Linked DNA regions of Homo sapiens: region 1 is linked to region 2. The links are contacts of gene promoters, found by promoter capture Hi-C in human tissues and cell types (Jung and others, 2019). All regions are on one chromosome and are shown on one strand. Each heading gives the region's core, a stretch centred on a gene start or on the middle of the fragment in contact. The rest is flanking DNA. Distances are from core to core; before and after follow the strand shown. Region 1 has its middle 33 kb from the start of MIR3680-1. Region 2 holds the start of HS3ST2 (heparan sulfate-glucosamine 3-sulfotransferase 2).

Evidence for each region. The method cuts DNA at HindIII sites, captures the fragments that hold promoters and counts their contacts. A contact is called where the count stands out against the background at its distance.
Region 1: a fragment that was not itself captured here is called in contact with the fragment with the promoter of HS3ST2 in region 2 in 1 of the 25 tissues and cell types used here (heart right ventricle).

The regions. Positions count from the first base shown.
Region 1 is chr16:21,536,208-21,542,903 of GRCh38, forward strand. It overlaps the pseudogene LOC646828. Among named protein-coding and RNA genes, the nearest start is that of MIR3680-1, 33 kb to the left of the region's middle. RefSeq lists enhancers at 1,797-2,298, 2,299-2,798, 4,805-5,543, 5,616-5,665. The HindIII fragment of the contact is 5,817 bases long and covers 1-5,050 here.
Region 2 is chr16:22,811,520-22,817,925 of GRCh38, forward strand. It overlaps HS3ST2 (heparan sulfate-glucosamine 3-sulfotransferase 2), which reads left to right and starts at 2,643. Exons shown (of 2, transcript NM_006043.2): 1 at 2,643-3,576. The coding sequence starts at 3,092. LOC107984851 (collagen alpha-1(XVI) chain) reads right to left here and starts at 3,340. Exons shown (of 4, transcript XR_001752349.2): 1 at 3,188-3,340; 2 at 1,468-1,745; 3 at 764-882. The HindIII fragment of the contact is 6,010 bases long and covers 1-4,381 here.

The sequences.
Region 1 (6,696 bases), core at 892-3,391, 1.3 Mb before region 2:
ATACAAAAATTAGCCAGGCGTGGTGATGGGTGCCTGTAATCCCAGCTACTCGAGAGGCTGAGGCAGGAGAATTGCTTGAACCCAGGAGGTGGAGGTAGTAGTGAGCTGAGATCGAGCCACTGCACTGCAGCCTGGGCGACAGAGCGAGACTCTGTCTCAAAAAAAAAAAAAGGAAAGAAAAGAAAAAGGAAGAAAACAAAAACCATGCAGACCCATGACGCTGGGACAACTCCCATGGATGCCTTGTGTGTCTGTGTGTGATAGATTAGGGCGTTGCTCAGAACATGCTCGCTGTGATCACTGGAACCGCTGTCCAATCTCAACAAGCTCCTACTTCAATTGGAACTTTCTTCTTGTGTAAGAACACCCCAAATGCATGAAAGAATATATATAACTCCTCAAGGCTCTTATGCAGCATCTTAGTGACGCTGCCAAGCAAGAGAGACGCCTTCCATGAAGCGCCATCATGCCAGTTACGGGCACGGCTCACTTGGCTTGGGGCCACTTCAACGGGCTCCTTCTGGATGATCCAGGTGACCGACTCGGTCAGCGGCGGGGTGGTGAGCGAGCCCACATAGGTCCAGTAATCCCAGCAGGTGGGCAGCAGAGCGGAGGGGTCGAAGGGGCGCATGGCCGCCTGCGCGTCCTGAGAGACCGAGAAGCACAGGCCGTATCAGTCCTCAGGTGGGACTAGGAGCTTCCATCTTGTCTCAGCACGGGAGGCCTTCATGGTGCTTGGAAGGAAGTGCTTTCCCCGAGATAAGGCCATGAGGCCACTGCTGTCACACTTGGAAGCAGTGATAAGAAAATGTGAGCCTTCTATACAGAGCAAGGATTCCTGCCAACTTACATTGGTGGGAATTACATTACATTACACCAGCTTATGTTGGTGCTTACATTTTTCCTTTTGAAGTCATTTCTTGGGGCGCAGTAGCTCACCCCTGTAATCTCAGCACTTTGGGAGGCCGAGGCGGGTGGATCACTTGAGGTCAGGAGTTCGAGACCAGCCTGGTCAACATGATGAAACCCTGTCTCTACTAAAAATACAAAAATTATCCAGATGTGGTGGTGGGCGCCTGTAGTCCCAGCTACTCAGGAGGCTGAGGCAAGAGAATTGCTTGAGCCCAGGAGGCAGAGGTTGCAGTGAGCTGAGATCACGCCACTGCACTCCAGCCTGGGCAACAGAGTGAGACTCTGTCTCAAATAATAATAATAATTAATAAATAAATAATAAAAAATTAAAAAGCCATTTCTTTTAGCATACCTTGGCTGCAAAAAATATTACTTTTTATTGTGATAAAATATACATAACATAAAATTTACCGTCTTAACCTTTTTTTTTTTTTGAGATGCAGTTTTGCTCTTGTTGCCCAGGCTGGGGTGCAATGGTGCGATCTTGGCTCACTGCAACCCTTCGCCTCCCAGGCTCAAGTGATTCTCCTGCCTCAACCTCCTGAGTAGCTGGGATTACAGGCACCCGCCACCACATCTGCTAATTTTGTATTTTTAGTAGAGACGGGGTTTCTTCATGTTGGTCAGGCTGGTTTTGAACTCCCAATCTCAGGTGATTCACCTGCCTCAGCCTCCCACAGCGCTGGGATGAGAGGCATGAGCCACCATGCCCGGCCCATCTTAACCATTTTGAAGTGTAAAATTTGATGGCGTTAAATGCAGTCACATTGTGGTGCAACCATCTCCACCATCCGTCTCCAGAACTTTTCCATCATCCCAAACTCAAATTCTGTCCTGACCCCACTAAACACTATGTCCAGCTTCCTCCCCCAGGCCTGGCACCCACCATTCTGCTTCCATCTCTCTGAATCTGAGGACTCTGGGGACCTGATGTGGGTGGGATCCTGTGGTTTTTGTCTTTTGTGTCTGGCTTATTTCACTGGGCATAATGTCCTTCAGGTTTATCCACATTGGAGCATGTGTCAGGAGTCCCTGCATTGTTGCTTTTTTTTTTTTTTTTTTGAGACAGAGTCTCGCTGTGTCACCCAGGCTGGCGTGCAGTGGTGTGATCTCGGCTCACTGCAAGCTCCGCCTCCTGGAGTTCAAGACCAGCTTGAACTCCTGGGTTCATGCCATTATCCTGCCTCAGCCTCCCCAGTAGCTGGGACTATAGGCACCCGCCACCACGCTCGGCAAATTTTTTGTATTTTTAGTAGAGACGGGGTTTCACCATGTTAGACAGGATGGTCTCGATCTCCTGACCTCGTGATCCGCCCACCTCGGCCTCCCAAAATGTTGGGATTACAGGCATGAGCCACCGTGCCTGGCTTGCCTGGAGACATTTCTACTGCTACCTTACCGATCAGGGTATCCAGTATCTCCGTGATTACCTTCATCTGTCCCTGGAAACTGTGCCTGCCACCCTACGCTGCAGCCGTCCAGGGACTGGCAGGCCTCGGCCTAAAGGTCTGGAGGGTGGGCGACCTGCAAGACTCACAAGAGGGGAAGCCGACAGACATACCTACAGACGGAGTGCTGTGCCCCTGGTGCCGATAAGAAAGCTGAGGCTCGGGCTGGGTCAGCAACCGAATTCCAGTTTAGAGGCAGATTTGGTCGTGGACATGGCCAGCCACCTCCGTAAAATTAGAGAGGATTATTTTGCATTGAATACACTCACAGCCAAAAAACAAAAAAAAAAGAGTCAGGGTCTTACTTTGTCAACTAGGCAGGAGTGCAATGATGCCATCATAGCTCACTGCAGTCTCTAATTCCTGGGCTCAAGTGATCCCCCCGCGTCAGTCTCCCAAGTAGCTAGGACACCATACCAGGGTTTAAAATTAATTGTTTGTAGCCAGGGGGTCTTGCCATCTTGCCCAAGCTGTTCTCCAACTCCTGGGCTCCAGTGATCCTCCTGCCTTGGCCTCTCAAAATATTGGGATTACAGGCATAAGCCACTGTGCCCAGCCAGCTCTTTTGGATATATACCCAGAAGTGTGTGATTGCTGAATCATAGGGTAGTTCTATTTATAACTTTTTATTTTTTTTATTTTTTTGAGGCAGAGTCTCACTCTGTCTTCCAGGCTGGAGTGCCGTGGCATGATCTCGGCTCATGGTGGTTGGGCCTGGCCGCAACACAGCCCTCATCAGCGTCCCATGCCAACCAAGCACAACTCTGCACCTGTCCCTGGCCAGCACTGTGGGACAAGAGTCCAGTCCAAAGTGACAGAGTCTCTGTCTGGAAGGAAGATGGCCTCCCTGCTCAGCCACATCACATCACCTTGACTTTGCTGGGCCCTGGCCTTCCAAGGTGGAAGCCAGCAACCTAGATGCCTTGGGCTTGTCTCCTAACATCAAGCAGTGAGGGTCAGGGTCAAGAGAGGCGGCTGAGCTACCAGAAGGAAGCCCAGGAGTGTCCACGCCGGCAGACACATGCATCAGTTCTGTGCACACGTGTTCACGTTTATAATTATCCAGTTAATTAAAAAAAAAAAACAGCATTATAGGCTGGGCACAGTGGCTCATGCCTGTAATTGCAGCACTTTGGGAGGCCAAGGCAGGCAGATCACCTGAAGTCAGGAGTTCAAGACCAGCCTGACCAACATGGCGAAACCCCGTCTCTACTAAAAATACAAAAATTAGCCAGGCATGGTGGCAGGTGCCTGTCATCCCAGCTACTCGGGAGTCTGAGACACAAGAATTGCTTTAGCACAGGAGGCAGAGGTTGCAGTGAGCCAAGACTGCACCATTGCACTCCAGTCTGGGCAACAGAGAGAGACTCGGTCTCAAACAACAACAACAGCAACAAAACCCACAGCATTATTGTGATAGAATTCACATACCATGCAACTCTCCCATCTAAAGTGTACAACCTGGTTGGGCGCGATGGATCATGCCTGTAATCCCAGCACTTTGGGAGGCCGATGTGGGAGGACTGCTTGAGGCCAGGAGTTTGAGACCAGCCTAAGCAACATAACAAGAATCTGACTCTACAAAAAACACAAAAACTAGCCAGGTGCAGTGGTACATGCCTGTGGTCCCAGGTAGTTGGGAGGTTGAGGTGGGAGGATGGCTTGAGCCCCGGAGGTTGAGGCTGCAGTGAGCTGTGATCATACCAGTGCACTCTAGCCTGGGTGACAGAGTGAGATCCTTTCTTAAAATAAGTAAATAGGCCGGGCACAGTGGCTCATGCCTGTAATCCCAGCACTTTGGGAGGCCAAGGCGGGTGGATCACCTGAAGTCGGGAGTTCGAGACCAGCCTGACCAACATGGCGAAACTGCGTCTCTACTAAAAATACAAAATTGGCCAGGCGTGGTGGTGCATGCCTGTAATCCCAGCTACTCGGGAGGCTGAGGCAGGAGAATCGCTTGAACCTGGGAGGCAGAGGTTGCAGTGAGCTGAGATCATGCCATTGCACTCCAGCCTGGGCAACAAGAGTGAAACTCCATCTCAAAAAAAAAAAAAAAAAAAAACCAGAAAAAGTAAATAAAAATTGAAGTGTACAATTCTATGGTTTTGGGTATATTCACAGTTGTGCAGCCATCCCAAGTCAATTTTAGAACATTTTCAGCACCTCAAGGAGGAAGCTTGGTACTTTTTAGCTCTTCTCCCCACCCCCGCCGTGCTGCTTCTGTCTCTGTGGGTTTCATAGGAACTGAGTCATGTAACATGTGGAACATTTGTGTCTTGCGTCTGTCACTTAGTACGGTGCTTTTGAGGCTCACCCACACCGCAGCGTGAGTTAGAGCTGTGTCCTTTCTGATTGCCAAGTAATATCTCATTGCATGGTCTAGCTGGGTTGACATCCCATTGCACACTCTAGCTGGGCTGTGAAGGAGCAGGCTGCTTGTGCACATGGGTAACAGATGGATGTACAGTGAGACGTCAGTCTGTGCACATGGGTAACAGGTGGGTGCACCGTGAGGTGTTGGTCTATGCACATGGGTAACAGGCGGGTGTGCAGTGAGACGTCAGTCTGTGCACATGGGTAACAGGTGGGTGCACAGTGAGGTGTTAGTCTGTGCACATGGGTAACAGGCGGGTGTGCAGTGAGATGTCAGTCTGGTGCGCGTGGGTAACAGGCAGGTGTGCAGTGAGGCGTCAGTCTGGTGCACGTGGGTAACAAGTGGGTGTGCAGTGAGGCGTCAGTCTGTACACGTGGGTAACAGGTGGATGTGCAGTGAGGTGTCAGTCTGGTGCACGTGGGTAACAGGCGGGTGTGCAGTGAGATGTCAGTCTGTGCACATGGGTAACAGGTCGGTGTGCAGTGAGACGTTGGTCTGTGCACATGGGTAACAGGCAGGTGTGCAGTGAGATGTCCTCTCCTCCTGCCGGCCACACGTCCCCGCTCCCAGGGCACAGATGTGCCAGTCACTTTCTGAGCAACTACTTCAAATCTTCAGAACAACCCTTCAAGAAGTATTTCTAGTTTACTGATGAAGATAGACAGACAGATATAAACAACTTGCCCAAAGCCACGTTGCCAGTCAGGGCCACTGAGGCCTGGCCCGTTCCAAGGTGCGGGCTCATCTCTCCCTCCCCAGGACTGCAGGAATCAGTCGGGGGAGCGGCAGGCCCCAGCCATTCCACTGCGTGCAGGTTTCCTGCCAATTAAGCTTTCCAGCCTTGGGCTGAGAAGAGGATGCCTGTGTGTTGCCTCATCGTCCCCAGGAGTTCCTGTCCTGTCTCTAAGATGCATGAGGGCTGGAGCAGCCATGTGGTTACAGAAAGCTGCTCCCCCTCAGGGCCCCCAGAGGAAGTCAGGGCCCTTCCTTTATGCGTGTGGTGAGCCCCAGGCAGCTAGAATGGGACACCGGTGAGCACACCAATGAGGCTGAAGACCATCACATCCATTATCTGAGCACGGATGGCCCAGCTACCTGTGGAAAGCACCACAAGCCTTTGCTGGCGGAAGTGGGTTGGTGACTTGTTCCACTTTTCTCTTATTTATTTATTTATTTTGAGACGGAGTTTCGCTCTTGTTGCCCAGGCTGGAGTGCAATGGCACGATCTCGGCTCACCACAACCTCCACCTCCCGGGTTCAAGCGATTCTCCTGCCTCAGCCTCCCTAGCAGCTGGGATTACACGCATGCACCATCACGCCTGGCTAATTTTGTATTTGTAATAGAGATGGGGTTTCTCTATGTTGGTCAGGCTCGTCTCAAACTCCTGACCTCAGGTAATCCACCCGCCTCAGCCTCCCACAGTGCTGGGATTATAGGCGTGAGCCACCGCTCTGTTCCTGGTTTTGTCTTCTTTCTCTTAAACAGGACCCCGCATTTTATGAGCGTCAAGCCTCACCCAGCCTAACTCCGCCCTTGGTTTGTCCTCTTAGAGTCTCAGTTTCCCCAGGTGTACGACAGGCAGTGTGGTGGCTGTAATGGGCTTCCATCAGTGCCTGCCACATGGGCGTGGGGCTCGGTAGGTGCTGCCGCTGCTGCTGCCAAAGCTAGAAGAGCCCCCACAGGGCATAGAGCCATTCCCTGGATCCCCTGGACCTGGTGGGCTGTTTCCAGCTCCACAAGGCAGCCAATTCCCCGGTAGCCCTGACTCTTGCGAAGGCAGGGAGGAGGGGGGGCCCCAGCAGCCTGAGGAGCTTGCAGCTTGTCCAGGCATGGAGGGTGGGGACCCTCTGTGGGCAGTTTTTGCCAAAACTTCTGGCTATGGTGAGAGGGTCAAAGGCGAAGCCTCGAGGTCTCCATTCTGGGAGTGTCTGCCCAGGGTCACCGGGGCCACACTGGGGCTG
Region 2 (6,406 bases), core at 1,393-3,892:
AAAAACTAGCTAGGTGTGGTGGCACATGCCTGTAGTCCTAGCTACTCAGGAGGCTGAGGCAGGAGGATCCCTTGAGCCCAGGAAGTGGAGGCTGCAGCATGAGCTATGATTGCACTACTGCATGCCAGCATGGTCAACAGAGTGAGACACTTCCCCTCACCCAAAAGAAGAAGAAGAACTCCTTTAAGTATATTTGTTTTGACATTTTTATTAACAATTAGAATGAGGAATTAATTAAATTGTGATCAACTGTGGAAATTACATGATGCCAAGTGAGTGGTTCATGCTTTGGGTAATGGAATCATAGAATCATGCAACATCTAAACTTTGAGAGACTTTTAAGGTGAATCATAGCGTCCCATTTTACAGCTGAGGAACCTGAGGCTTAAAGGGGGTCCACTTGCCCAAAGTACACCTGGAATAAAGGGTAAAGCTGGGATACAATCTTTCTACTTTTTCTTTTTGAATAAATGAAAGCTACCTCGTGGTTTGACTTCAAATAGACATTTAAAAAAAACTAGGGCAGCGAACTGATGAGACAAGATGAAATGCAATCAAGTCAAATCTATAAGGACCTACACATTGGGTCCAAAAAGGCCCACTGTACAAGCACAGTATGGGGTAGCTGTGCCTTAATCAGCAGCACTTGTAAGAAACATTTAGAGATGTTACTTGGCTGCAAGTTTGAGATGTCAGCAGTGTGATATAGCCACAAGAAAAAGATAATGGAGTCTTAGGTGGCATTACTAGAAATAGAACTTACAAAAGAGAGGTGAGAGTCCTGTTGAACTTTTCAATCCATATCTGAAATTCCTCGCGCAGTCCCAGGTGTGAGATTTTAGAAGAGACATAGACAAATTAGCTTACATCCAGGAGAGGAGCCTAGGATGGAATTATATGAATAATGGTCAAAGGAAGTTAGGAAGCTGCAAAGTGCTGTAACTAAGAGCTTGAATCTTGGAGTCAAGACTGCCCGGGTTTAATCCCAGCTCTGCCAGTTACTGTGTATATGTTTGTTAAATCTTCTTATCACTGCCTGTAGATTAGAAATTACAATAATACCTATCTCCAAAGATAAATGAGGTAGTGCATGTCAAGTGATTAGCGCATAACTCCCATAAAACAAGCACTCAATAAATGCTAGCTACTATTAGAATTAAGACAGCAAAGTGATGCCAGGGTAATGGTAACAACTTCATAGGTTGTGAATATTTAATCAGTTAACCCATGCCAGGTGCTTGATACAAAGTTGGCAGCTATTATTATTATCTGCCGTAGAATTGGTTTAAGGTTTCTAGGGATGGGACTAGTTTGGGGACAAAATATTTTCTGGTTTGGGCTAAGATCCACAGAACCTAATGATCAGTTTACAGCCTGAGGAAGGAAGTCAGTTATACCCTGATCAGGGTGGGGGTCATGGTGGTCATCTAGACATTCTATGGCTGGGTGGTGGTGGAGGGCACTCACCTTGTGAACACTCGGACATGGTGAATTGGCATTGGCATTGCTGTTGAAGGACAACTCAGCCGTGTTCTTAGCCATGGCCATTTAGGCCTGTTCTGATGCAGGGTTCTGATCCAAGGTACCAGTGTGGTCCCTCAGGGAAGTACTGGGGATCGTCACTTATGCCTGTTCTGGACATGGTCACCGAGAACTGTCCTGTAGGCATTCACTTAGGAATCATTCGAAGTGGAATTGCTCCTGGATACGTTCTCCTTGTACTCTGTTTCCTCCTCCTAGTGTCTCTGTGTGAAGAAGCCCTCCTCACTCAGCCCTCGGCGACCCTCTGGTACCCTGGACAGCTCCCCGGGGAGCAGTCTACCGCTAGGCGGCGGCTGCTAAGAGAGGAACCCTCCTGACGCGGAGTCTGCCGCTCCGGGGCTCGCTCTCCGGCAGGCCCGGGGAGAGGTGGGGTGACAATGGGTTGGGGTGCGCGCGTGCCTCATAGGTGCGAGACAGAGCGAGCCGCCGGGGTGTGAGTCAGCGCGCTGGGGGCTAAGAAGCTGGGTGAATAGTCACGGAATCTCACTCACGCTCGGCTCCTCCACCCATCCCGTCTACAGCGCGTGTCCCAGTCCAGGGCGTGCGTGCGCTCGGTGTCCGATTCCGGGCTGTGTGTGTCCATTTGGCGAGATGTCGAGAGCGGGGGGAGTGTCCTTGTCGGTGTATCTGGGCCCAGGTTAGGGGACTTCTCCTCCCCACCCCCGCGTGGGTGTGGGGGTGTGTCCGGGCTAGGGCGCGTGTGCTTCTGTGCCTGTGCGTGCGTGTGCGGGTCAGGGTGGTGGGACCGCGCATCAGGGCAGGGTGCCTGCGTCTGCGTCTGGGTCTGTCTGGTCTGCATGTCGGCGCGATCTCGACCTGGATTCGTGTCCCTGGATGTCGAGAGGCCAGCGTGGTGGGGGTGTCCAGCCTCCCGGAGGAGTACTATGCCTTGACACCTTCGTTTCACCGCCCCAAAGCTGGCCTGGGGCTCCGTAGGGAGTGGCCTGCATGGGGAGGGCCCGCGTGCTGTGTTTCTGGGAGGGGTAAGAGAGTGGGGGCGCAGGGGGCGGGCCAGGTCCCTGGGCGCGGCGCGGGCTCGGGGGACCCGCGCGGCTGACGTCAGGCCACTCCTTAAATAGAGCCGGCAGCGCGCTCCGCTCGGCATTTCCCGAAGAGCCAGATCGCGGCCGGCGCCAGCGCCACCGTCCGGTCCACCCGCCAGCCCGCACAGCCGCGCCGCCGCCGAGCGTTTCGTGAGCGGCGCTCCGAGGATCAGGAATGGGGCTTCGGGCGCTGGGCGCGCTCCGAACCCGGCGCACGTAAGAGCCTGGGAGCGCCCGAGCCGCCCGGCTGCCCGGAGCCCCATCGCCTAGGACCGGGAGATGCTGGAAATGCAACCGCCTGTTCCCCGAGGAGCCGCTGCCCCCGGGACCCCCTGGCACTGTGCGCACCCTGGTCAGCAGCCCCCGGAGAAGACGGCGCCCCCAACGCCCGACCCGCGTGGCCGTGGCAGCGCCACGCGAGCCCTCTAGGCGACCGCAGGGCCACAGCAGCTCAGCCGCCGGTGCCCCCTCGGAAACCATGACCCCCGGCGCGGGCCCATGGAGCCATGGCCTATAGGGTCCTGGGCCGCGCGGGGCCACCTCAGCCGCGGAGGGCGCGCAGGCTGCTCTTCGCCTTCACGCTCTCGCTCTCCTGCACTTACCTGTGTTACAGCTTCCTGTGCTGCTGCGACGACCTGGGTCGGAGCCGCCTCCTCGGCGCGCCTCGCTGCCTCCGCGGCCCCAGCGCGGGCGGCCAGAAACTTCTCCAGAAGTCCCGCCCCTGTGATCCCTCCGGGCCGACGCCCAGCGAGCCCAGCGCTCCCAGCGCGCCCGCCGCCGCCGTGCCCGCCCCTCGCCTCTCCGGTTCCAACCACTCCGGCTCACCCAAGCTGGGTACCAAGCGGTTGCCCCAAGCCCTCATTGTGGGCGTGAAGAAGGGGGGCACCCGGGCCGTGCTGGAGTTTATCCGAGTACACCCGGACGTGCGGGCCTTGGGCACGGAACCCCACTTCTTTGACAGGAACTACGGCCGCGGGCTGGATTGGTACAGGTAAGGACCAGGAGCTCCGCTCCGTGCGCCGGGTCTCTGATCGCTTCCATTGGGAGAGCCATCCGTCTCTTGTGTTTTCTCTTTCTTTTAACCCAACTCATTGTATGGGTTCAGGCTGACACACAGGGCCATGGGGGGCTATAGCAGAATTTACCCAGAACTTCCCAGTGATAATCTAGACGGGCAGTTTCTGGAACTGCAAAGGGCGTTCCCTCGTCACTGGAGTCGTTGGAAAAGGATTATCTCCAGTCAAACCTAAGTGCCAGCTAAAGGGCTAACTCCCTCTGTGACCAGCCCTTAGGGTGCCCAAGGAAGGGACAGGCGAGGACCTGTGCTGCCTGAACACGGCACCATCCTAACCCTCTGTAGGTCTTTGCTGGTACCCAGCCCCTGAAGGACCCTGAGAAAGATAAGGCAGTTCAGAGACCCCTTGCAGCAAGGCTCTGTTTGGGAAAGGTCCCCAGAGTTCAGGCCAAATGACAGTGCATCGCCAGAGGTCTCCAGTAAGAAAGATGCCTTAGGGAGTCTCAATCTCAAACCCAGGTATTTGCTGCTGTACTGGGGCTGAGACCCCCAGTAGCTCTGGCCCTGGTAGGTGGTCTTTGAGTAGTGGAAAGAGCCCTGGATTCGAGTCTTGGGTCTGTCACTTAAGCTTGAGCAAGTTTCTTAAACTCTATCAGCCTCTATTTTCTCATCCATCCCAATGGGCAGGAAAACAGCCCTTGCCCTGTATACCTTCCAAGGCTTTTCTGAAGTGCCTTAAAGGTGTAAAAAAGGCACTTCACTTTAAGTGATGCTTCTAAACCAGCAGCCAAAATGTGGAATTTGAAGGTGGGCCCTGCGGGTGAAGGCTAGCAAGGGTGCTAGGGGCAGCCAGTCATGCATAGACTGTCTATGCTTCCCATGCATGCCAGGGAGGAGAATTATCCCCACTGGGGGAGTCAAGGCACAGACCAAAGCTTCTGTGAGGTGGCAGCGTCCACGCCTCAATGCCTTTCTGCCTCCCTAGCCCTGTATGGTGCTGAAGTGTAGGACTGGCCCACATGTGGGTGGTGTAATGTCCCGGCTCCCTGTTAACACATAGGTCACAGAATTCTCACAATTCACCTGACCCTTTGAAGACTTTCTAGAAACATCTGCATAGTAATGACGTTGGGGAGGGGTAACATGGTAGCTGACAGAGTAGCTGAGGCTAAATCTGCTGTTTTTATCTACAGCTTTAGGCAGTAGAGGTCATATGCATATTGGACAAGGGACAACTTTGTTAGAAAGAGGACCCCACTGGGCTTATAATAGAGGGCCCTGGATTTACCAAAAGTAGGGGGACCGCAGGCCTGATTTAGCACCTTTGCAGGTTACTCCTGGCTCGCAATGGTTGTAGTTGTGGGGACGAGTGGGTCATGCATCATCCTTAGCAGGCAGACACATAGTCTGTCCCCATTGCAGCCAACCAGGGGCTAGCTAGCCTGTGGGTGGCCCCAGCACCATTATGTCTGGTTAATAGGGTAGGGTGGCACAGAGTGGCAGATCTGGCTTCATGCCAATGCCAATAGCCCACTGTGCTTTCCAAGCTGTGACTCATGGGCATCCCGTCTAGGTGCATGTGGACACTGTCTGAGTCAGATCCCGGGATGGAGGAGGCAAACACATTGAACAGCAGAGCCCAGAGTGGGTCAGCCATGACCACATTCGAATGCAGGCCAGCATTTCCTCGATGGAAAATCTGAAGATCATTATGACACCTTTTGCCAATGCGAAGTGCCTTTTAAGTGCAAAACAGCAAAATTCTGAGCATCTGGCTTTCAGATAGTGTGCCCTCCAATAAATACCTATGCCCTGAACCCAGACTCTCCTCCCTCCCCTCTCTTCCTTCCACCACTAAACAGCATACCTCAGGCTTCCATCCTGGAGCCCATGTCATTCAGGGATGGCTGCTTTTTATTTTTAACCTTGGCATGTGTGATTCTAAGCAAGCTTAGCTGTGAACCTTAGAGAGGGAAGCCATGTCTTATTTTTTATTTATTTATTTTTTTTTAGCACATTTGGATTCTGCTAAAATTCTCAGCTGAGTCTTGGTAGGTTTTATTTAACATCAAGCATGCTGACAGCTCTGCTTCTCTCTTCTCTCCCCCTCTACCACCTTTCCCCACTTTATATTTCTAAAAGACTATCCTAGAGGTCTGGTCGTAATTGCCCTCTCCCCATTGCTTGACCAGGAAGGCTGGGAGGCTCCAGTGTCAGGAAAAGGCTGTGTGGTTTGTGCTTCTTTCAGTTACAAATCCACACCCCTAGAGTCAAGTGTTTAGCTTGTGGATTGCCATTTCTGTGCAGGGTAATACTACCCCACTTAGATGCTGTTTCCATAACCTCCAGAACATCTTTCTGTATGTAAAGAACATTTTTGTACATTTCTTTTTATTATGACCAAGTCATACACATTAACTGCAGAAATCATGGGGATTTCTGGAATCTTTTAAAACCCATGTTCTTACTTTCTTCCTGAATCCCATGAGCTAGGTACGGTGGGTGACAGGATGTTCCGCTCTCTGTCCACTGCCTTGTCAGTTCACAGCTTGCCATCATAAAGCCAGGGTCCACTGGGCAGACATAGCCAAAGAACCCTTGCACCCATTGGAGTGGACTGTGCTTTCCAAAGGGGGAGGTGCAGAGTTGCAGGCAGTGTGGATCTTAGTATGATCTGCCCACATCAAAGCCCCTGGTGATAACTTCCTGATCAGGAGGCTGAAATCCAGATAGTGGAAAAATCAAAAGCTTTACCCTTAACCCAAAGGAGGGGCTTCTTTCTGTGGGTAAATGGAGATAAAGCTGA